Linked DNA regions of Homo sapiens: region 1 is linked to region 2. Evidence: promoter capture Hi-C in human tissues and cell types (Jung and others, 2019). All regions are on one chromosome and are shown on one strand. The core of a region is centred on a gene start or on the middle of the fragment in contact, and the rest is flanking DNA. Distances in the headings are between cores, read along the strand shown.

Region 1 (3,674 bases), core at 339-2,838, 200 kb after region 2:
AGTGAGCCAACATCACACCACTGCACTCCATCCAGCCTGGATGACAGAGCAAGACTCTGTCTCAAAAAAAAAAAAAAAAAAGTAGTACACCAAGGAAACAAACCCATCAAAATTGGGCTAACTTTGCTAAGATTTTAACACATTTCATGGCTTTTTAAAAAACTAGCTTTCTTTCAACCAAGTAAGGATTGAGAAAACAAGACCTAGCTTTCAGCTGGGTGCAGTGGCTCATGCCTCTAATCCCAGCCCTTTGGGAGGCCAAGGGAGGAGGATCACTTGAGGCTAGGAGTTTGAGACTAACCTGGGCAGAATAGTGACACCCTGTCTCTACTAAAAAACAAAAAACTTGGCTGGGTGTGGTCCCAGCTACTTGGGAGGCTGAGGTGGGAGGATCGCTTGAGCCCAGGAGGTGGAGGCTGCAGTGAGCCGCGATTGCACCACTGCACTCCAGCCTGGGTGACAGAGCAAGACTCTGTCTCAAAAAAACTAGTTTTCTTTTTTTTTTTTTTTTTTTGGTACTATACATATAAAATGTACTGTTGAAAGCTCATGAAGTATACAAAGTATACAGTTCAGTGCATTAAGCACGTCAAGAATGTTGTGCGAGCATCATCATTTGTTCCAGAATTCCTTTCACTTCAGAGGAAACCCCACACTCATTCGCAGTTGCTTCCTGTCCCCCGCCCAGCACCCACATTCTGCCTCCATGCCTTTGCCTGTTCTGGACGTTTCACTTCAGCAGGATCCCACAGGATGTGTCCCTTTGTGCCTGGCTTCTTTCCCTCTGTGTCCTGTTTGAGGGTCCCTCGTGCTGGGGCGTCTGCACTTAATTCCTTTCCATGGGAAGAGCTCTTTGCTGGGGGACAGGCCACTGTAGGCATTTGTCCATCAGTTTGATGGACATTTGGATGGTTTCCGCCTTTGGGCTATTGTGAATAATATTGCTGTGAACATTCAGTTCTCTTGGATGCCTCCCTAGAAGTGGCCTTGCTGGGTCATGTGGGAATTCTGTGTCTAACCTGGTAAGGAGCCACCAAACCGCCTCCCATGCCCACCAGCTGCGCACGAAGGTTCTGATTTCTCCACATCTGCACCAGCACTTGCTATTTTCTGTCGGGGTTTTTTTTAATTAAGAATACTTTTATTGCATATCTTTAAAAACTTTATTTTTTTTATATTTAAAAAAATTTCTTTTAAAAATAGAGGTGGGATCTCACTGTGTTGCCCACGCCAGTATCCAACACCTGACATCAAGGATCCCCCCCACCCGGCCTCCCAGTGTGCTGGGGTTACAGGTGTGAGCCACCGCACCCAGCTGTTTTCTATCCTGTTGATCCCAGCCAACCTAGTGGGTGTGAGGCGGGATCCCATAGTGGGCTTGATTTTACATTCTCCTGGTGACCAATGGTGTTGAGTGTCTTCAGGAGGTTTTTGCCCACACGTGCATCTTCTGACTTCATGGCTTTTAAATTCAGGTGTTTATAAACCAAGGGAAACACGTTCATTTCCAAGTGTCATCTTTGGGTTCTTTTATTGCGTAGAAGAAACTGATGCTTTACTTGAGGGCCCATCTCGGGATGTCCACAGGGCAGAGCTAATCCTGCGATGCTCCTCAGATGTTGATCATAAGCAATATGTTCATCATGGCTAACTTCAAGTTAATTGATAAAAAAGCTTTAAAATTTTTCTGTTTTGACCAGGCACATGGCTCACACCTGTATTCCCAGCACTTTGGGAGGCCAAGGCGGGCAGATCACCTGAGGTCGGGAATTCGAGACCAGCCTGACCAACATGGAGAAACCCCGTCTCTACTAAAAATACAAAATTAGCCGGGCGTGGTGGCGCATGCCTGTAATCCCAGCTACTTGGGAGGCTGAGGCAGGAGAATTGCTTGAACCCAGGAGGTGGATGTTCTGGGGGTGTCGAGATCGCGCCACTGCACTCCAGCCTGGGGGACAAGAGCGAAACTCCATCTCAAAAAAAAAAATGTCTGTTTCAATTTCCAATATGTGAAATGTCAACAGTTATAAACACCCTCCAAAAACCTTGTTGGAATCCTCAGTGAGTTTAACGAAACTGATTTGTAATCCTGGGAAATGTTATTTCAGTAATTATGTCTTCTGATGTGTCTGCTTAGAGAAGGAGCAGATCTTTACATAACATAACATGAATGGAATTGATGAAAGGATCTCGTTTGATGTGGGGTCATTTCTAAGTAAGCTAGCATGCCGAAGCTTTGAGTAGAACCATCATTTTTAAGTTGTTATACTTAAGCTTTTGCTTCTTTTGTTTGTTTGTTTGCTTGCTTTTTGAGATGGAGTTACCCAGGATGGAGTGCAGTGGCATGATCTCGGCTCGCTGCAACCTCTGCCTCCCGGGTTCAAGCAATTCTTCTGCCTCAGCCTCCCGAGTAGCTGGGATTACAGGTGCCCACCACCACGCCCAGCTAATTTTTGTATTTTTAGTAGAGACGGAGTTTCACCATGTTGGCCAGGCTGATCTCGAACTCCTGGCCTCAAGTGAGCAACCTGCCTCAGCCTCCCAAAGTGCTGGGATTACAGACGTGAGCCTCCGCACCTGGCAAGTTTTTGCTTCTTCTTTGTGCCTGCCACAGAAAGGGCGTCTGGGTGCTTCTGTTAGCGAATGTGCTTGCTGCCCCCGCTGTGAGGACAGCAAGGGCTGTGTGTGGCAGGGGCGTGGCATTGTGTGTGCAAGAGCTCTACCGAAATGCTGTGTGTCACAGTTCACTGTTGTCCGGCCCTCCCCAAGTTCTCGATGTAATGGAAGTTACTTTGGTTTTGAAAAGGAACATGCTGTTCTTTCTGAGTGTTTGCATTCAACACAAGAGGAATCCAGAAGTGATGCACAGAGAACAAACTCTGTCCCCATCCCATTCCCAGGGTGGCTGTTGCACCACGCCCTCCCTCCTGCCCCTGAGGCCCGGAAGCCAGGCGAGGAGCCCAGGAGGCCTTTGGATCGCAGCCCACCTTTGGGACAGGTGCAGCCCCATTTTACATCTCAGGTAACACCCCTTCATCTAAGACATGCATTTTTAAAAATATTTCCCTAATTGTGTCGTTTTCATTACAGAAACTTCAGATTACAATAAACACAATATAAAAAGCCTCCAATTTTCAGGATCCAGATATAGTTATTAGTAACATTTCAATGTGTTTTCTGCTGGGTTTTTGTTTTGTTTTGGTTTGGTTTTGGTTCTCATTTGTTTGTTTGTTTTTTGAGACAGTCTTGCTCTGTTGCCCAGGCTTGAGTGCAGTGGTGCAATCTCGGCTCACTACAACCTCCCCCTCCCGGTTCAAGCAATTCTCCTGAGTCAGCCTTCCGAGTTGCTGGGATTACAGGCATGCACCAACACGCCTGACTAATTTTTGTATTTTTAGTAGAGATGGGGTTTTACCATATTGGCCAGGCTGGTTTCAAACTCCTGACCTCAGGTGATCCACCCGCCTCTGCCTCCCAAAGTGCTGGGATTACAGGCATGAACCACCGCGCCCAGCCCCCATTTTTTTTTATTTTTTCATTACAAATTGTATCATGTATATGTTTTACTATAGCTTTACATATCTGGGTACTATTTTTTTAATCTGGTATGATAAGTGAAAAAAAAACCAAAAACTTCTATTTTTTTTTTTTTTTTTTTTTTTTGAGACAGGGCC
Region 2 (3,930 bases), core at 89-2,588:
CCAGGAACTGCAGCCCCCTCTGAGTTGAGAGATCTAGTAGGCAGGAAAAAAGGAGAAGGAAGCTGTGGCTGCTGGGGGATGTGGCCTCGGGGACAAGCCCCTCTGTGCAGAGGACGTGGGCAGGTGGGATTTCAGCCCCCTCTCCAGCATCTCACTGGCAGCCAGGGTGGCTGGGGTTTCCCCGAGGGCGGGGGCTGGGGAATCTGACCTCTGTGCCCCGGCCATGGTGCCGTCTTGCTGGGAGGATGACAGGCTGTGTTTCACCTGCCAATTTGGCGACAGTTTCTCTTTTGGAACATCCCGGGGGACTTTGTTCTGTGCCACCCACCTCTGGACCCTGGGTCTGATGGCTGAGCTGCAGGCTCCAAGGTTCAGCGTCCAGTCTGGCCCTGCTCCGTCCATTCCCCACATTTGAGGGTTTCCCGGAGTTTGGTTCTGCTTCTTCCTCTCTTCCATGAAACTGGGGGCATTGCCCACGCCCCAGTGTCCCCCATCATCTGCCCGGTGGGGACTTGCCCACTCACGTGACTGCAGCCTGTGGGGCCTCCTCCTAGTGTCCCGAAGATACCTGGTCATCCTTGACCCCGCCCGCACCTGCCCGCGTGCCCCCTCGGGTTCTAGTGGAGGACGTGGCCCGCCTGCCACCCCGCCAGGCGCCGGGTCCTCCAGGCCTCCTCGAGCCACCTCCTGCCCACCTGGGATGTCTGTGGGTTCCCGGCCCGGATGCGTCTTGGAGCCTTCTACCCGCACCCCAATCTCCTGCCCCAACAGGCTGGGCCCCTCCTCCCGGGCTGGCCAGGCCAGCACCTCCGCAGGGGCCGCAGGACGCCTGAAGGCCCAGGCCGCAGGTGCAGGACCCTCTGCGGGGGAGCTGGGGGACATCACTCCTCTGCTCTGCGCGCTTTTATGAAAGGGCCTCTGACCCTCCGGGGGTCCAGCTCACTCTGCCCGCGCACTCCCAGGCATCTGGGGGCCGCCCCCCGCCCTCCCTCCCCGCGGCCCACTCGGCCCGCCCAGCTCGCCCCGTGCACAGACTCGAGGCCTCCAGGAGCGGAGCCAAACAGCCCCGCGGGGAACGCGCGCCGCACGCGAGCTGGACCCGCCCAGGCACGAACTCTCCTGGAAAAATGCTCCCGGCGGCTTTCCTGCTTCCTTTAGCGTGAACCGCGGGTGCGGTGCCTCCCGTGAAAATAATAAATTCACCGTCACGCTTGTTGTGAACGCGGGTGGTTCCCGAAACTTGGAGGCTTCCCGTAAACCCAGCTCCTTCCTCATCTGGGAGGTGGGTCCCGCGCGGGTCCGCCGCCTCCTCCCTGGCCCCTCCCTCTCGTGTCTTTCATTTTCCTGGGGCTCCGGGGCGCGGAGAAGCTGCATCCCAGAGGAGCGCGTCCAGGAGCGGACCCGGTGAGGCGCGGAGAGGGGCGGGCGGGGGAACCAGAGGGGCGGGCTCGGTGCTGGGGACTCGGTGCTGGGGACTCGGTGCTGGGGACTCGGTGCTGAGGGCCCGGTGCTGGGGACTCGGTGCTGGGGGCTCGGTGTTAGGGCCTCTTGGTGCACTGGGGTTGCCGGTCCGCGCAGGGATGGGGACTCTGGGGCTGCGGCGCCTCTGCCTCTGGGACCGTCACCCCCCGCTGGCCCTGAGCGTGCGTCGCAGGCCAGGCGGGCGGGGTCGCAGCGGGCGTACCCGAGTATGGGCGGGAACGAGCTGCCGGCCGGTGTGGGGACCCGCGTCCCTGCCCTGTGCGCCAGGCTCGACTCTTGAAGGGACAGAGGCGGCGTCTCGGACCCGGGGCTCCCCTAAGTCCGATGGGTCGGAGCCCCCTCCTCCCTTCCCGGTCCTCGGCCTCACCCGGGGTTCCCTGCGCCGTCGCTGCGACCAAGCTGGGAGCAAAACGCACTCGCTCATATGCGTGCACACAAGCTGGTGGACACACGCACATGAGCACACGCAGGCACGCGTGGACTGTTGCACACTCCACAGCCACAGCCTCGTGTGCACTCACAGCAAACTCATGAAACAGGAACCGTGAGGCTTCCCTCACCCGGCAGGCCCTCAGCTGCCCGTTCTCACGCGGGTTTTGCTGACTCCGCAGTAATCACCACATTCAGTTCCTTGCCCACTACTGGTGAATCACCTGCAGCTTGAGAAGCACGTTTTCTGCCGGTGGTCAGCAGAGGATCCCCGGCTTCTAGGAGGCCCAGGGCGACCGGCTGCAGGAGCCCGCGTAGGAGGCCTGTCTCCAGCAGGGCGGGGGTGGTGGCAGGGCCTCTCCACGGGGCTGCTGCTGAGCCCAGAGCGGGAGGACAGGAGGCCACCAGCAGAGGGGACAGGTGAACAGGTGCTGAGCAGGAAGGGTTAGCCCGGTCTAGCCCCAGGCCTGGGGGGCTTTGCTGCTCACCTGGGGTCCCCTCTGGGCCTGGCTCAGCAGAGACCAGGGCAGAGCCGTCCACACCGTGGGCCTGGGTGGGGTCCATGGCCTCTGCAGGCTGCAGCTGTCTTCTGAGAGGTGTTGGTGTGCTCATTCTCGGTAGAGACGTGGGGTCACCTGTGTTCCCTGAGCCCCTGCAGCAGCTGGGAAAGCAGTGTCAGCCACCCCTCAGGTGCTGTGGGGGTACAGAGTCCACTGACCACACAGGAGGACCCCAATGAACCCAGCCCGAGGGGGCCGGAGCTTCCACACACCCAGCACCCATGGGAGCCGGGACAGGCAGGCGCCCGGGGCACCAGGGAGCGGGAACAGGCATGCGCAGGCGTGCTGGGCGGTGCGTGAACTTTCCTAGGCGTGTCACTGGCATGGCTCCAAGCCTGCGCATCATCGCTTGTCAGGGAGCACTCAGACCCTGCCGTGTCTGGTGCCGGCGCCTCAGATACCGACCCCTGTGTTCGTGGTTTGAGAGAAATCTGATTGCCGCCTCCATCTTTTCCCGCTCTAGAAGTTTGTTTTTTGTTTTGTTTGGTTTGAGACGGAGTTTCGCTCTTGTTGCCCAGGCTGGAATGTAGTGGCCAGATCTTGGCTCACCACAACCTCCACCTCCCTGGTTCAAGCGATTCTCCTGCCTCAGCCTCCCAAGTAACTGGGATTACAGGCGTGCACCACCACGCCCGGCTAATTTTTTTGTATTTTTAGTAGAGACGGGGTTTCACCACGTTGTTCAGACTGGTCTCAAACTCCCGACCTCAGGTGATCCACCTGCCTCAGCCTCCCAAAGTGCTGGGATTGCAGGCATGCGCCACCGCGCCCGGCCCACTCTAGAAGTTTTGAGGCTCCGTGCGCCTCGTCTCCCTGTACCTGGTCTCCCTGTGCCAGGTCTCCCTGTGCCACACACGGAGCTGCCCGGCCAGTCACCGCCCACCTGGCCACTTTCCCTGGGGCCGCGCCCTGCCGCCTGCCCTCTCTCTGATTTTTAGCCACTGCGTGGCATTCAACTCAAGCCCACGCCTCTGGTCAGGAGGATGGCAGGAGAGGACTCAGGCAGACGGGCAGAGTGGCAGAGCTGCCAACAAAAACGCAGGATACCCAGTAACATCTGAGTTTGAGATCGTTAATCGTGTTTTAATATAAGTGTGTCCCGAGTGTCCCACGGGACAAGCTTTCACCAGGACATCATTGGTTGTTTATCTGAGACTCAGATGTGACCAGATGTGCCTGGTGACCTGAGAGGGGCCTGTGTTGCCAGGGTGCGTTTTCTTCTGATAAACGGAGCAAATTCCCACAGCAACCCAAAGTCGCTGACACCTGCTGCCCAGACAGAGCTGGGGCCACGCATGGTCCGCAGCCTGAAGCCTCGGGGTAGAGCCAGACCTGCCGCTCTCCTCCCGGTCTCCCCCCAGCTCCCTACCCCCTGAGCCCTTCAAAGTCATTCTCAAGCCAAAGACAGGGGTCTTCCAGGCCCAGGGCTCCCCTCCACGGCTGACTCATTCCACACCTT

The links. Contacts are between HindIII fragments. The study calls those that stand out against the background at their distance.
Region 1: a contact is called between a fragment that was not itself captured here and the fragment with the promoter of SECTM1 in region 2, in 2 of the 25 tissues and cell types used here (liver and lymphoblastoid cells).

The regions. Positions count from the first base shown.
Region 1 is chr17:82,133,421-82,137,094 of GRCh38, reverse strand. CCDC57 (coiled-coil domain containing 57) reads left to right here. Exons shown (of 19, transcript NM_001394669.1): 16 at 2,901-3,022. Among named protein-coding and RNA genes, the nearest start is that of FASN, 37 kb to the right of the region's middle. The HindIII fragment of the contact is 3,997 bases long and covers 1-3,586 here.
Region 2 is chr17:82,331,174-82,335,103 of GRCh38, reverse strand. It overlaps SECTM1 (secreted and transmembrane 1), which reads left to right and starts at 1,338. Exons shown (of 5, transcript NM_003004.3): 1 at 1,338-1,404. RefSeq lists an enhancer at 2,032-2,834 and a silencer at 2,711-2,995. The HindIII fragment of the contact is 16,320 bases long and covers 1-3,930 here.